Regions from separate parts of the Homo sapiens genome. Here region 2 is linked to region 1. Evidence: promoter capture Hi-C in 16 types of primary human blood cells and fetal thymus (Javierre and others, 2016). All regions are on one chromosome and are shown on one strand. Each heading gives the region's core, a stretch centred on a gene start or on the middle of the fragment in contact. The rest is flanking DNA. Distances are from core to core; before and after follow the strand shown.

Region 1 (6,560 bases), core at 3,296-5,795:
ACACCACGACTCAGGCCATCTTCTACTGGCATCTCACCATTCCCCACCAGGGACCTCCATGTGGGGCTGTGTGGGTGTGGGCTGTACTCCCAAGAGGGAAAAGGGCTGAAGCCCAGCCCAACTCCATTAGCCAAAGCTTTTTCCTTTTTTTTTTTTTCAGAGAGATGGGGTCTCACTATGTTGCCCAGGCTGGTCTGGAACTCCTGGGCTCAAGTGATCCTCCCGCCTCAGCCTCCCAAAGTGCTAGGATTACAGGTGTGAGCCACCGGCCGCAACCCAAGCCTTTTTCCAATTTGCACTCCATCACCACTACCACCACCCCCACTCTGCAGTGAGTCTTGGGAACATACAGGTCTTGGCTTGGGTTCCAAGGTAGTTCTAGAACCCAGGAAATTGTCTCACCGGCCTGAGCCTCGGTCCCACTGCACAGAGGGGAAGAGCCGGAAGGGGAGCGGTGAGGGGAGGTCATCGGAGAGTTGGTACCGCATCACAGTCAGCTGAGAGACCAGAGAGCAACAAGGTTAGTTTGGTCTCACGACCCCACTGCCCCCTTCCCCATGGTGGACGGAATTTATGAGGCCACCCCAACCCTGACCTCGCCCTGAGGTGGTTGCAAGCGGAGGATTCGATGAGACTCAAATTCGTCCAGATTCACAGAGCTGTGAAACGAGACTTCATCGACCCGGATTCCTGGCCCATAACCTGGAAAGAGAGAGAGAGAGACTTCTCTCCTGACTCCTGTTTTGGGAGAGGAGCAAGGAGAGGGGAGGCTCTGTCTGACTTCTCTCCATGAACTCTGGCAATGACCTACTCCAAGGGGAGAAAGACCCACTTTCTCCTCACCTCTCAGCTCTGACTTCCCCACACAAAACTCTTCCGTCAAGCCAATGCGCATCTCTGTCGGAGGAGAGACCATCAGGAGAGCTCAGCAATGCCATGGTTTAAGACACCAAGGAACCCGCCCTAACCCCAACCCTTGGTCCTGCCTGCAGATGCCTCACCAGAGCCGCTAGGAAGGAAGCTCTTGAGCCGAATCTCTCCCTGCACATCCACCTTCAGCAGGGATCCCTGAGAGGCAGGGGCGTCAAGGTTAGAGTCTTTTTTTCTTTCTTTTTTTGAGACGGTCTCGCTCTGTCGCCCAGGCTGGCAGTGGCGTGATCTCGGCTCACTGCAACCTCCACCTCCCAGGTTCAAGACATTCTCCTGCCTCAGCCTCACAAGTAGCTAGGGTTACAGATGCCTGCCACCATAAGTAGCTAATTTTTGTATTTTTAGTAGAGATGGAGTTTCACTGTGTTGGCCAGGCTGGTCTCAAACTCCTGACCTTAAGTGATCCACCCACCTCGGCCTCTCAAAGTGCTGGGATTACAGGCATGAGCCACTGTGCCCAGCCTTTTTTACTTATTTATTTTTTTTAAGAGACAGGGTCTTGCTCTGTCATCCGGGCTAGCGTGCAGTGACTCGATCTTGGCTTACTGCAGCCTTAACCTCCTGGGCTCAAGTGATCCTCCTGGCTCAGCCTCCCAAGTAGCTGGGACAGCAGGTGTACACTACCATGTCTGGGTAATTTGTTTATTTGTATTTTTTGTAGAGACGGGGTCTGGCTATGTTGCCCAGGCTGGTTTCAAACTCCTGGCCCCAAGTAATTCTCCCACCTCGGCCTCCCAAAGCACTGGGATTACAAGCATGAGCCACTGTGCCCGGCCGTTGCTGGGAGTCTTAGCCACCCCACCATGTTTCCCAAGTCCCATCTGTCCTCAGCTCCAGGTTTGGGAGCTCAAACTTACATTAGATGCTATCAGTACAGACAATCTCTCGACCACATCCAAAAAAACTTCATTCTTTTGGCTCTGAGAAAGAGAGAGAATTTGGGTGGTTGGAAGCAGAATAGCCTATGTTCTGAAATGGACAGACAGGGAGAAAGAACAGGACAGTCAAAGCTACAGCTCTAGGGTGAGGACATGGGTGATGGAAGGGATCATCTCCCACCTCCACCCACATCTGGGGGGGTGGGAGATGTGCCAAGATCTTTTTCTTTTTTTTTTTTTTTTTTTGCATTTTTAGTAGAGACAGGTTTTCACCATGTTGGCCAGGCTGCTCTGAAACTCCTGGCATCAGGTGATCTGCCCACCTCGGCCTCCCAAAGTGCTGGGACTACAGGCGTGAGCCGCTGTGCCCGACCTAAGATCTTGGACTCCCGGATCCCAGAGCAAAACCAGAGCGTCTGACCCCATGGATCCTTCCCTCACCTGGTCAGAGCGACTGGACAGGACGGGGCGGCTGGCTGCACTGCTGGGGGCCACTTTGCTCTGTTGTGTCTCAGCCCCAAACTGTAAAGCATCCAAAGCAATCAATCATCAGGTCTGACAACCCCAGCCAACCCCTCTTCTCTTTCCTCACCCTCCTCTTTCCCTCTACTGACCAAGCCAACGCTGCTGAGGTCAAAGAGGCTGAAGGGCTTGCTGACCACAGCTTCCGTCTGGATGAAATTCCTCAGCATCTCCGTGGATGTGGTCTGTACATAGCCATAGTCCTAGTGGTAAAGGAAGGACAGTCTGAGTGATCAGTGGAGGGAAGGGGTAAAGAGGGGGAGTGGGGCCAGGCATGGTGACTCACTCCTGTACTCTCAGCGCTTTGGAAGGCCGAGACGTAGGAGAATGGCTTGAGGCCATGAGTTCAAGACCAGCCTGGGCAACACAGTGAGACTCTAGTCTCTACAAAAAATAAACAATTAGCTAGGCACAGGGGAGGCTGGGGCAGGAGGACGGCTTGAGCCCAGGAGTTCCAGGCTGCAGTGAGCTATAACTGCACCACTGCAGTCCAGCCTGGGCAACAGAGCAAGACCCTGTCTCTAAAAGCAAAAAAAAAAAAAAAAAAAAAGGTAGACTTGGCCTCCTAACCACGGCATCCCACAGTAGAAGAGCAGATGTATCTTCAGGGGAATTGGGTAGGGGCCACAGAAGGGGATTGTTGATTCTCACCAGCACTTCATCCAGGAGTTCGTATACCAGAGCCACATTGCGGGAGATGGTCCCCTCGCCCAGGGAGCCACAGTAATCGCCCAGAAGGGTGGCCAACCTGAGGAAACACTTGGAGCGTGTATTTTCTCCTCCTCTCAGACCCCTCCTAGCTACCAGGTGCCCAGCCCAACCCTCCTCACCTGGAGAGCAGTTCTAGGAGGCTGAAGGGAGAAACGTTTTCTGAAGTTGTGACCACCAAATAGAGGCCGCTGTGTCTGATGTGAATGAAATGACGGCCATGGTGATGCTGAGACACAGGCAGGGAGAAGAGAGGCGTTAAAAAAAGGGAGGTGGAGTGATCAGAACCCAGGAGACCTGAGCTCGGATCCCGATGCCTCTTACTAGTCACAACAGCAGTGCCTTTGGGAGATACATGACATATGCCTGGGCCCAGCTTCCCAATGTGGAAAGGGGGTTAATTACACTAACTACCCCGAGTTGCTGAGGATGGAGTCACGCAGGGAGCTGGGCCTGGTGTGTTGCTGGCGCCCATTGACTCTTTTTTTTTTTTTCCCCACCCCCACCTACCCCGAGAGGGAGTCTCGCTCTGTCTCCCAGGCTGGAGTGCGGTGTCCGGATCTCGGCTCACTGCAACCTCTGCCTCTTGGATTCAAGCGATTCTCAAGCCTCAGCTTCCCGAGTAGATGGGATTACAGGCGCCCGCCACCACGCCCAGCTATGTTTTTTTTTTTTTTGTATTTTTAGTAGAGGCGGAGTTTCACCATGTTGGCCAGGCTGATTTCGAACTCCTGACCTCAGGTGATCCGCCCGCCTCGGTCTCCCAAAGTGCTGGGATTACAGGCGTGAGCCACCGCGCCGGGCCTCACGTTAGCTTTATTTGGCGGAATGCACCCCCCAAGTGGAATCTACCAATGAACCAGTCCTGGGAGGGAGCTGGCGCCCACCCGGCCCGACGGGACCCCGCTCCTCACCCGCCTCCCGCCACTGGTTACCATGACAACCGGGGACTCGTCTCCTGGCAGTCCCGTCAGCTTCCGGTAGAAGAGCTCGGCCACATCCCGGCCGCCACTGTCCCCGCGGACTGGCGGGTGGAAGGACTCAGTGAAGGATCCTGCGACACAGGCTGGCCCTGGGCGCCCCTCCCGCCCGGCCCCTCCGCCCCTTCCCAGCCCCAAGGGTCTAGGATACAGTCTTTGTAGATGAGCGGGTCCCCCTTGGAGGACAGAATGAAGAATTGGGAAATCATGGCCGTTCTGGAGAGTAGACAAGAAGACGGCGAAAGTCGGGCCTGCCCCGCCCTGCGGCCCCGGAACAAAAGAACGCGTGTGCGCTGGCCCTTTAAGAGCGATTCTCCTCCGCCCGCGCCAGCTCGGACCGCGGGAAACCCGGCGCCTGCACTACCCCGCCCGGAGATTCCCTTCCGACGCCCGCACCGCCTCCCCGTCACTCATTCTAGGCCCGCACGGTGATTGGCTTGCGGCTAGCGGGAGGTGAAGAAGGCCGCCTTGTCCGATTGGCCCGCACGCAGTGGCGCCGGTCACGTGGGGGGCGACGTTTCGCGCCAATTTCGGTTGGCCGGCCACAGTCCACCGCGCGGAGATTCTCAGCTTCCCCAGGAGCAAGACCTCTGAGCCCGCCAAGCGCGGCCGCACGGCCCTCGGCAGCGATGGCACTGAAGGACTACGCGCTAGAGAAGGGTACGGGTCTACGAGCCCGGGAGGGCGTCCTGCGCGGGGAGCCTCCCGGGGAACACCTGTTGGTGTGAGCTGGGGTCTTGGGGGACCGGGGTCGGCGGGTTCTGGGGTGCGCGAGGCCAGAGGCAGGGTCGAGCTGCGGCCTGGCTAAGGCCCACGGGGCCTGGGAAGCGTGCGGGGGGCCATCGATGTTGAAGAAAAGCTAGTAATCCCACCTGGTAAAGGTGTTAGGGTCGTGGGGTTGGGGGCTTGGGGGCGCGCTAACCCGGCTGGGGGCTGCACAGGGAAAAGTCGCGCCCAGGACCTCAGGAGAGTCTTAAGGGCTCTGGGCTCCCGTGCCCGCTTTCCTTCGCGCTTTTGGGCATTCCCAGGTTCCCGCGCCCTCCCCAGGCGCGCGTAGGCCCCGGGGGCGGGCAGGCCGGGGCCGCTGCGCGCCGGGATTGGCCGTTTGAGGCCGCCCTCCGAGCGGAAGTGGAGCCGGGCGGAAGTGGCGCGAGGAGGCTGGAGGGAGTGTCGTGTAAACAGTGTCCTTCCGCGCGGCGGCCGCGGAGAGAGCTGCGGCCCGGGGGGGCGTGCCTGGGATCCGGAGCTTCGCTCGGGCCCGGGAAAGGCGGCAGTGGGCTGGGATCGCGGTGTCTCTGGGTGTGATGGCCAATGGCTGGACTGGCTCCCGCCCTGGGCGGAGGAATCCCGAGCTGTGAAGCGGCTGGAATCCGGGCCCATGTGCTTCTTTGTTTACTAAGAGCGGAAGCGATGGCGGGAGCGGGGGTGGGGTGCGGTGGCGGGGTGCGGTGGCGGAGGTCCCGGTGAAATCAGGGGCTAAGGGGACCCAAAGAAGGCGGGGGATCATAGGGGTGGAAAGAAAGCTGAGAACCTTGAGACCGGAGTGTGAGGGGCCAACGGGGAAGGGCGCTAGAATTTTAAACTAAAGTAGGGACCGGAATTCCCCTGGGGAGATGTTGGATGGCCCTGTGCACTGCCACGGGCTCTTTATTCTTCGCTGGTTAGAAACAGACTTGTGAAAAAGAGTTATGCCCACTTTGGGGAGACTTCGGTAGGTTTATTTAAATGCTCATATTATTAATTAGTTCATAGGTCGTGTTTTAAGCGAAAATGGGTATCTAAGATTTGTCTTAAAGTTTGTGTCTTACGGTTTTACATTTCATGTTACAGAAAAGGTTAAGAAGTTCTTACAAGAGTTCTACCAGGATGATGAACTCGGGAAGAAGCAGTTCAAGTATGGGAACCAGTTGGTAAGTCTAAGATTGGGTAAAGGGAATGGGGAGCGGGGTGCTTAAGGAGCCATAAGCAGCAGCTTGGCTTGTTTTATTAAAGACATAACAATTAGAGGGTTTGAGGGCTGAAAAGCGAGTATCGCTCTGTGTGGCGCTGCGTTCTCCCCTGTGGATGCCCAGAGCCTGTGCTGAGTTCTCAGTGATGCATTTTCACATATGAACACTGGTGAGCAAAGTGAATGTGGCTCTGAGGTGTTTCTGTCTCTTCCCCACTTGAGGTTCGGCTGGCTCATCGGGAACAGGTGGCTCTGTATGTGGACCTGGACGACGTAGCCGAGGATGACCCCGAGTTGGTGGACTCAATTTGTGAGAATGCCAGGCGCTACGCGAAGCTCTTTGCTGATGCCGTACAAGAGCTGCTGCCTCAGTACAAGGAGAGGGAAGTGAGTGGTTAGAGAACAATGGCAAACAAAGGGCGAGGCGTTTAAGCTTCTGTAGAGAGGCTGCTCAGATACTGATGTTTTCTGAGCAGGCAGAAAGGAGGGGCACTTCTGCCTGGTGTTCTCTGTGCTCTCCTTTCCCCATCCTGTTGCTCTTTTTTTTTTTTTTTTTTGTTCTTCTCCTTTAGGTGGTAAATAAAGATGTCCTGG
Region 2 (6,560 bases), core at 1,925-4,424, 340 kb before region 1:
CTCTCAGAGGAAAGGGAATGATCCCCAGGTCACATGGTCAGTAGGCACTGGAGCTGGGACTGAAACCCAGGGAGACAGACGAGAGACGGGCCAGGGCTGCGAGGAGGCAGAGAGGCAAGGGCTTCGGCCTCCCCATTTCCAAGCTTGCATTCCCAGGAGTCCATTCATATGTGAAAAAAATGGCTTTTTATTTATTTATTTGTTTAGAGACAGTCTCGCTTTTTGCCCGGGCTGGAGTGCCGTGGTGTGATCATAACTCACTGTAGCCTTGACCTGGGCTCAAGTGATCCTCCCACCTCAGCCTCCTGAGTAGCTGGGACTATAAGTGTGCACCATCACACCCAGATAATTTTTTAAATTTTTGGTAGAGATGGGGTCTTTCTATGTTGCCCAGCCTGGTCTCCAACTTCTGGGCTCAAGTGATCCTCCCGCCTTGGCCTTCCAAAGTACTGAGATTACAAGCATGAGCCATTGCGCCTGGCTTATTTATTTATTTTTAGAGACAGGGTCTCGCTCTGTCACCCAGACTGGAGTGAAGTGGCACAATCATAGCTCAGCGCAGCCTCAAATTCCTGGGCTCAAGGGACCCTCCTGCCTCAGCCAACAAAGTAGCTGGAACTACAGGCATACACCACCATGCCTGGCTAAATTTTTTTAGAAATGGGGTCTTGACCAGCCCAGGCTGGTCTTGAACTCCTGGGCTCAAGTGATCCTCCGGTCTCAGCCTCCTGAGTAGCTGGGACTACAGGTGCACACCACCACACCCGGCTAATTTTTTTGTGTTTTTATTGTAGAGACAGGGTTTCACCATCTTGCCCAGGCTGCTCTCGAATGCCTGTCCTCATGTGATGCTCCCACCTGGGCCTCCCAAAGGGCTGAGATTACAGGTGTGAGCCACTGCACCCGGCCTGATAGCAGAACCTGCTTTTCTTCTACCAGCCTCTCTTGGACTGTGGAAAAACCTCACACCAACATCTCCTTGTCCAATCGCCTCTCTTGGACTGTGGAAAAACCTCACACCAACATCTCCTTGTCCAATCCAGAGGCTTCCATGGAATCACTCTCCACCCCAAGACCCCCCAACATCTCCTGTGTGCTCATTGAGTAACAGACCATCTGCTGCTTCCCCCGTCCCCAACCATCTCCCCAAGGTCCTGGGCATTGGTCCCCTGCTAAGGGGATCTGTCGGGACCTGCCTCCCAGAGTGAGGGTGGCGATTTCTGCATACATTTCCCCTATCTGTGGCTCCCTTTTCCTGGGTTATGGGCCCATCTTCCGTGCCTCCACACCCTTTCTTTCTACCTCCAGCTGTCCCTGGGCTCTTTGGGACCCTAACCACTGGCATCAATCAACCTTCTATGCCCAGTGTGGACATCAAGGACATCTCCCCAGCAAGCTCAGGCCTTCAGCCCAACATTCTCCTCCTTGCTGTGCTCAGCTCCATTGAATTCTCCATCCTCCACCCCACCCTGCAAATCTGTTTATCTTTGCTTTTCTGGTTTCTTTCATTTTCCTCTGCCTCACCCAGATTCCAGACAAATTCTTATTTATTTATTTATTTATTTGAGATACAGTTGCTGGCGGCTCACTGTAACCTCTGCCTCCCAGGTTCAAGTGATTCTCATGCCTCAGCCTCCGGAGTAGCTGGGATTTGCAGGCATGTGCCAGCACACGCAGCTAAAATTTTTTTTTTTTTTTTTTGAAATGGAGTCTCGCTTTGCTCGCTTTGTTGCCCAGGCTGGTGTGCAGTGGCATGATCTGGGCTCACTGCAACCTCCACCTCCTGGGTTCAAGCAATCCTCCCACCTCAGCCTCCCAAGTAACTGGGATTACAGGCCTGGGCTACCACATACGGGTAATTTTTATATTTTTAGTAGAGACGGGGTTTCAGCATGTTGGCCAGGCTGGTCTTGAACTCCTGACCTCAAGTGATCCATCTGCTTGGGCCTCCCAAAGTGCTGGGATTATAGGCGTGAGCCACAACACCCAGCTTGGATTATGGACAAATTCTTTTGAATGAGACTCTGTCCCCTGCCTCCAACTTTTCTGCATCCCAGCAGCTGGCATCATCCCATGTCCCAGAGACTTCACACATACCTAATGGGGCTCATCTCAACCCTCCTGTTCCTCAGCCTGATGCTGGGGAGGCCAGGCTCAGGGTCAGTGTGTTGGCCTGCAGCCCGATGTGTGCCCTCCTCCCTGGATCTCTTCCTTCTGGGTTGGGACGAAGGCGTGAAGGTGGTTTGGAGTCATGAGTTCAGGCTGAGACACCTCAGACCTACCTGACCTGCTGGGGGATTCACCCTGCCAGCCTCCGAGATGCAGTAGGATGAGAACACGCACTCTGGGGATAGGAGCCTGGATGTGTGTGTGTCTGGAGGTTGGCCATTCCCATCTTCCAGCGTGTCTCGTGTGACAGGGACCAGTGTGGAAGTGTCTCTGGGTTGGCCCTTAGGCATAGGCCAGTTTGAGAATAGGAGACAGGAGGTGAGAGGTCGCCATAGGTGGGGTTTGCAGAGGGTGGTATTAGAGCTTTGCTGTCTCTCTGATCTTTCTTGGCCCTATTTGGGGGTGACTTCCAGGATGACGCCCTTGCTCCTCCCCCACCCCCAACCCTGGCAGGTCTTCCCATGTGTCCTCTGTAGCAGTCTCAGCCACACCGTGCAGTGGACCACTGCATTGGAGGCATCCTACCTCTTCTTAAGGACATGGTCCCTTCAAGGACCCTGGATGCTGACCTGTCTCCTGTCCCACCTAGCCCACCTATAGCACCTGGCTCAGCAGAAGCTCATGGATGACCTTGAATGACCCCTTCCAGCACTGAGACTTGCTTTCTTCAAACTAGCATCCAGGTCTAGGATTACCCCACTCAGCAGCCTCAGATAACTAAAGGAGCATCTCTAACTGGTGAGGTCTAACCCAATCAAAAGTCTTTTTTTTTTTTTTTTTGAGACGGAGTCTCGCTCTGTTGCCCAGGCTGGAGTGCAGTGGTGCGATCTCGGCTCACTGCAAGCTCCGACTCCCAGGTTCACGCCATACTCCTGCCTCAGCCTACTGAGTAGCTGGGACTAGAGGCGCATGCCACCACACCCGGCTAATTTTTTGTATTTTTAGTAGAGACAGGGTTTCACCGTGTTAGCCAGGATGGTGTTAATCTCCTGACCTCGTGATCCGCCCGCCTCGGCCTCCCAAAGTGCTGGGATTACAGGCGTGAGCCACAGCACCCAGCCCAAAAGCCTTATAATAAATAATATTTAAGAGATGGGTGTTGCTCTGTCGCCAAGGCTGGAGTGCAGTGGCGTGATCATAGCTCACTGCAGCCTCGAAGTCCTGGGCTCAAGGGATCCTCCCACCTCAACCTCCCCGGTACCTGGGACTACAGGAATACACCACCACGCCTGGCTAATTTTTAATTTTTTTATAGAGACTGGGTCTCACTATGTTGCCCAGGCTGGTCTTGAACTCCTGGCCTCACAGGGATCCTCCTGCCTCTGCCTCCCAAAGTGCTGGAATTACAGGCATGAGTCACGGTGTCCCAGCCATTTTTTTTTTTTTTTTTTTTTTTTGAGACAGAGTCTCACGCTGTTGCCCAGGCTGGAGTGCAGTGGTGCCATCTTGGCTCACTGCAACCTCCCCCTCTCAGGTTCAAGTGATTCTCATGCCTCAGCCTCCCGAGTAGCTGAAATTACAGGCATGTGCTGCCATGCCCAGGTAATTTTTTGTAGTTTTAGTAGAGAAAGGGTTTCACTGTGTTGCCCAGGTTGGTCTCGAACTCCTGGCCTCAAGTGATCTGCCTGCCTTGGCCTCCCAAAATGCTGGAATTATAGGCATGAACCACCATGCCCTGTCCTCCTCCCCATTTTTTTTTTTTTTTTTTTTGAGACCGAGTCTCGCTCTGTCACCCAGGCTGGAGGGCAGCAGCACAATCTCAGCTTACTGCAACCTCTGCCTCCCCGGTTCAAGCAATTCTTCTGCCTCAGCCTCCTGAGTAGCTGGGACTACAGATGAGTGCTACCACGCCCAGCTAATTTTTTGTCCCCTTTTCTTTTGAAGAGGAAAAGCAATTCCTGGCCTCCCAGCCTGGGCCAGCCAAAATAGCTTAGGAAGAATGTGGGCAGGCCCAAGACCTCTCACCTCCCTCACCTCCACCTTCCGATCTTCACACTCGTACTGTTTTTTTTTTTTTAATTATTATTATTATTATTATTATTTTGAGACAGAGTTTTGCTCTTGTTGCCCAGGCTGGAATGTAATGGCACGATCTCTGGCTCACTGCAACCTCCGCCTCCCAGCTTCAGGCAATTCTGCCTCAGCCTCCTGAGTAGCTGGGATTACAAGCATGCACCACCACACCCGGCTAATTTTGTATTTTTAGTAGAAATGGGGTTTCTCCATGTTGGTCAGGCTGATCTCAAACTCCCAACCTCAGGTGATCTGCCTGCCTCGGCCTCCCAAAGTGCTGGGATTACAGGCGTGAGCCACCGCGCCAGGCCCTGTTTTCTTAAAATCATTGGTGAACATTCCACTTCTTGGAGACCCGCAATGTAAACTGGGCAAACAGAATGGCTTGTTTTCGTCTGTGCTGGGGCCTGAAATGAGTCAGTGACTAGATTTTAAGGCTGAGGAATTGCGTTTACTGGGTTCATGGACACGAACTCCTGTAGGGCCTAGATATTTATCAGCATGGCCAAGGCCTGGGGGACAGTTTCGAGTCTCAGCTCCAACACTTCCTGCATGCCAAAACTGCGTCAGCCTCTTTTTTTAAATAAACAAAAAACGTTTAGTCACAGAAATGTTCAAGAATATGCAAAAGTAGAGAAAATATAGTAATAAAATCCTGCTTCAGCAGTCATCAACATTTGGCTAATCTTGTTTTATCCATGTACCCTCAAATACTGTTCCGAACCCCAACTTTTTTTTTTCTTGTGACAGGGTCTCACTCTGTCATCCAGGCTGGAGTGCAGTGGCGAGATCCTGGCTCACTGCAACCGCCGCCTCCTGGGTTCAAGTGATTCTCATGCCTCAGCCTCCTGAGTAGCTGGGACTATGGGACTACAGGCACGTGCTACCATGCCTGGCTAATTTTTTGTACTTTTTAGTAGAGACGAGGTTTTGCCATGTTGCCCAGGCTGGTCTTGAACTCCTGAGCTCAGGCAACTTGCCTGCCTCGGCTTCCTAAAGTGCTGGGATTACAGGCTTGAGCCACTGTGCTCAGTCTTGATACTTTTCAATTTAAGGTAAAATACAGCATGATTTATTAGTTTTTTTTGTTTGTTTGTTTTTTGTTTTTTGAGACAGAGAGTCTAGCTCTGTCACCCAGGCTGGAGTGCAGTGGCACAATCTTGGCTCACTGCAACCTCCACCTCCTGAGTTCCAGTGACTGGCCTACTCAGTCTCCCAAGTAGTTGGGACTACAGGCACCTGTCACCACACCCGGCTAATTTTTTTGTATTTGTATTTTATTTTACTATTACTTTTTGAGGCAGAGTCTTGCTCTGTTACACAGGCTGGAGTCCAGTTGCACGATCTCAGCTCACTGCAACATACGCCTCCTGGGTTCAAGCGATTCTTGTGCCTCAGCTTCCCAAGTAGCTGGGATTACAGGTGTGCACCACCACGCCTGGCTAATTTTTATATTTTTAGTAGAAACGGGGTTTCACCATGCTGGCCAGGCTGGTCTCGAACTCCTGACCTCAAGTGATCCACCCACCCGGGCTTCCCAAAGTGCTGGGATTACAGGTGTAAGCCACTGTGCCTGGCCTGATTTTTTAAAACCTTTTAATATAATCATATAAAATGCATACATTTCCAAAGTCAAATATACAAAACAAAGTATATTTGGAGGAATAAGACTGTTTGTCTTTCATTCTATTCTCTCCCTCCTATGTCGCTATTAAAAATTTTTAATTTATACTCCCAGTTTAAAAATTTATATTTGTACCTCGCTATTTCTTTTCACAATTGAACAATGAGATAATAGACATACTTGCTTGTTCTTAACTTTAGCAGGAAAGCCTCTAGTGTTCCACCATTGAGATCTTCCTTTAAAATCCTTTTTGTAAAATTTGGGCTGTGCTATCCATTCTATCTGATGTTCCACAGCACTTCCTGGAAAGATAAAATGAACAATGTGGAAACTCATAATGAAAAGTGGTACACAAACGTGCCTGTTGACTGAGCATCAATCAATTCCAGGAAAGCTTCAAGATTCCTGAACCTTTTTGAAGCAGTTTGGAGAATTAAAAAAAAAAAAAAAAAAAGAGTAAGAAAGGATTCCTGAACCCACTTCCACTTACATTCTACACAAAAAATGAAAGGAGACTTGCAGAATTGAGGGGACCTGCCCCAAGTAACCTAAGGAGCAGGTGGGAGCTCTCATTTCCTTTTCTGCAGTTCAGGGGTCTTCTGCTATGTGGAAAAGCTCAGGGCCCAGGATAAGTCCACTGACATTAAAAATTAAAAAAACTGAATTCAAGGCTGGGTGCAGTGGCTACTGCCTGTAATCATAGCACTTTGGGAGGCCAAGGCAGCTGAACCACTTGAGGTCAGGAGTTCGAGGC

What was found. The method cuts DNA at HindIII sites, captures the fragments that hold promoters and counts their contacts. A CHiCAGO score of 5 or more calls a contact.
Region 2: a fragment that was not itself captured here is called in contact with the fragment with the promoter of MCM7 in region 1 in 4 of 17 cell types (total B cells, naive B cells, naive CD8 T cells and 1 more); the score reaches 7.1 in total B cells.

The regions. Positions count from the first base shown.
Region 1 is chr7:100,099,382-100,105,941 of GRCh38, reverse strand. It overlaps MCM7 (minichromosome maintenance complex component 7), which reads left to right and starts at 4,545. Exons shown (of 15, transcript NM_005916.5): 1 at 4,545-4,678; 2 at 5,849-5,928; 3 at 6,189-6,353; 4 at 6,539-6,560. The coding sequence starts at 4,648. It overlaps AP4M1 (adaptor related protein complex 4 subunit mu 1), which reads right to left and starts at 4,299. Exons shown (of 15, transcript NM_004722.4): 1 at 4,170-4,299; 2 at 3,974-4,062; 3 at 3,161-3,267; 4 at 2,982-3,078; 5 at 2,423-2,533; 6 at 2,250-2,330; 7 at 1,788-1,850; 8 at 1,002-1,068; 9 at 844-897; 10 at 596-702; 11 at 403-497. The coding sequence starts at 4,227. RefSeq lists enhancers at 4,221-4,270, 4,293-4,845, 5,191-5,350 and a silencer at 4,981-5,080. The HindIII fragment of the contact is 6,263 bases long and covers 139-6,401 here.
Region 2 is chr7:100,437,929-100,444,488 of GRCh38, reverse strand. It overlaps PPP1R35-AS1 (PPP1R35 antisense RNA 1), which reads right to left. Exons shown (of 3, transcript NR_187540.1): 2 at 5,987-6,108; 3 at 4,612-4,755. Among named protein-coding and RNA genes, the nearest start is that of PPP1R35-AS1, 4.5 kb to the right of the region's middle. RefSeq lists a cis regulatory region at 1-171 and an enhancer at 1-656. The HindIII fragment of the contact is 6,057 bases long and covers 146-6,202 here.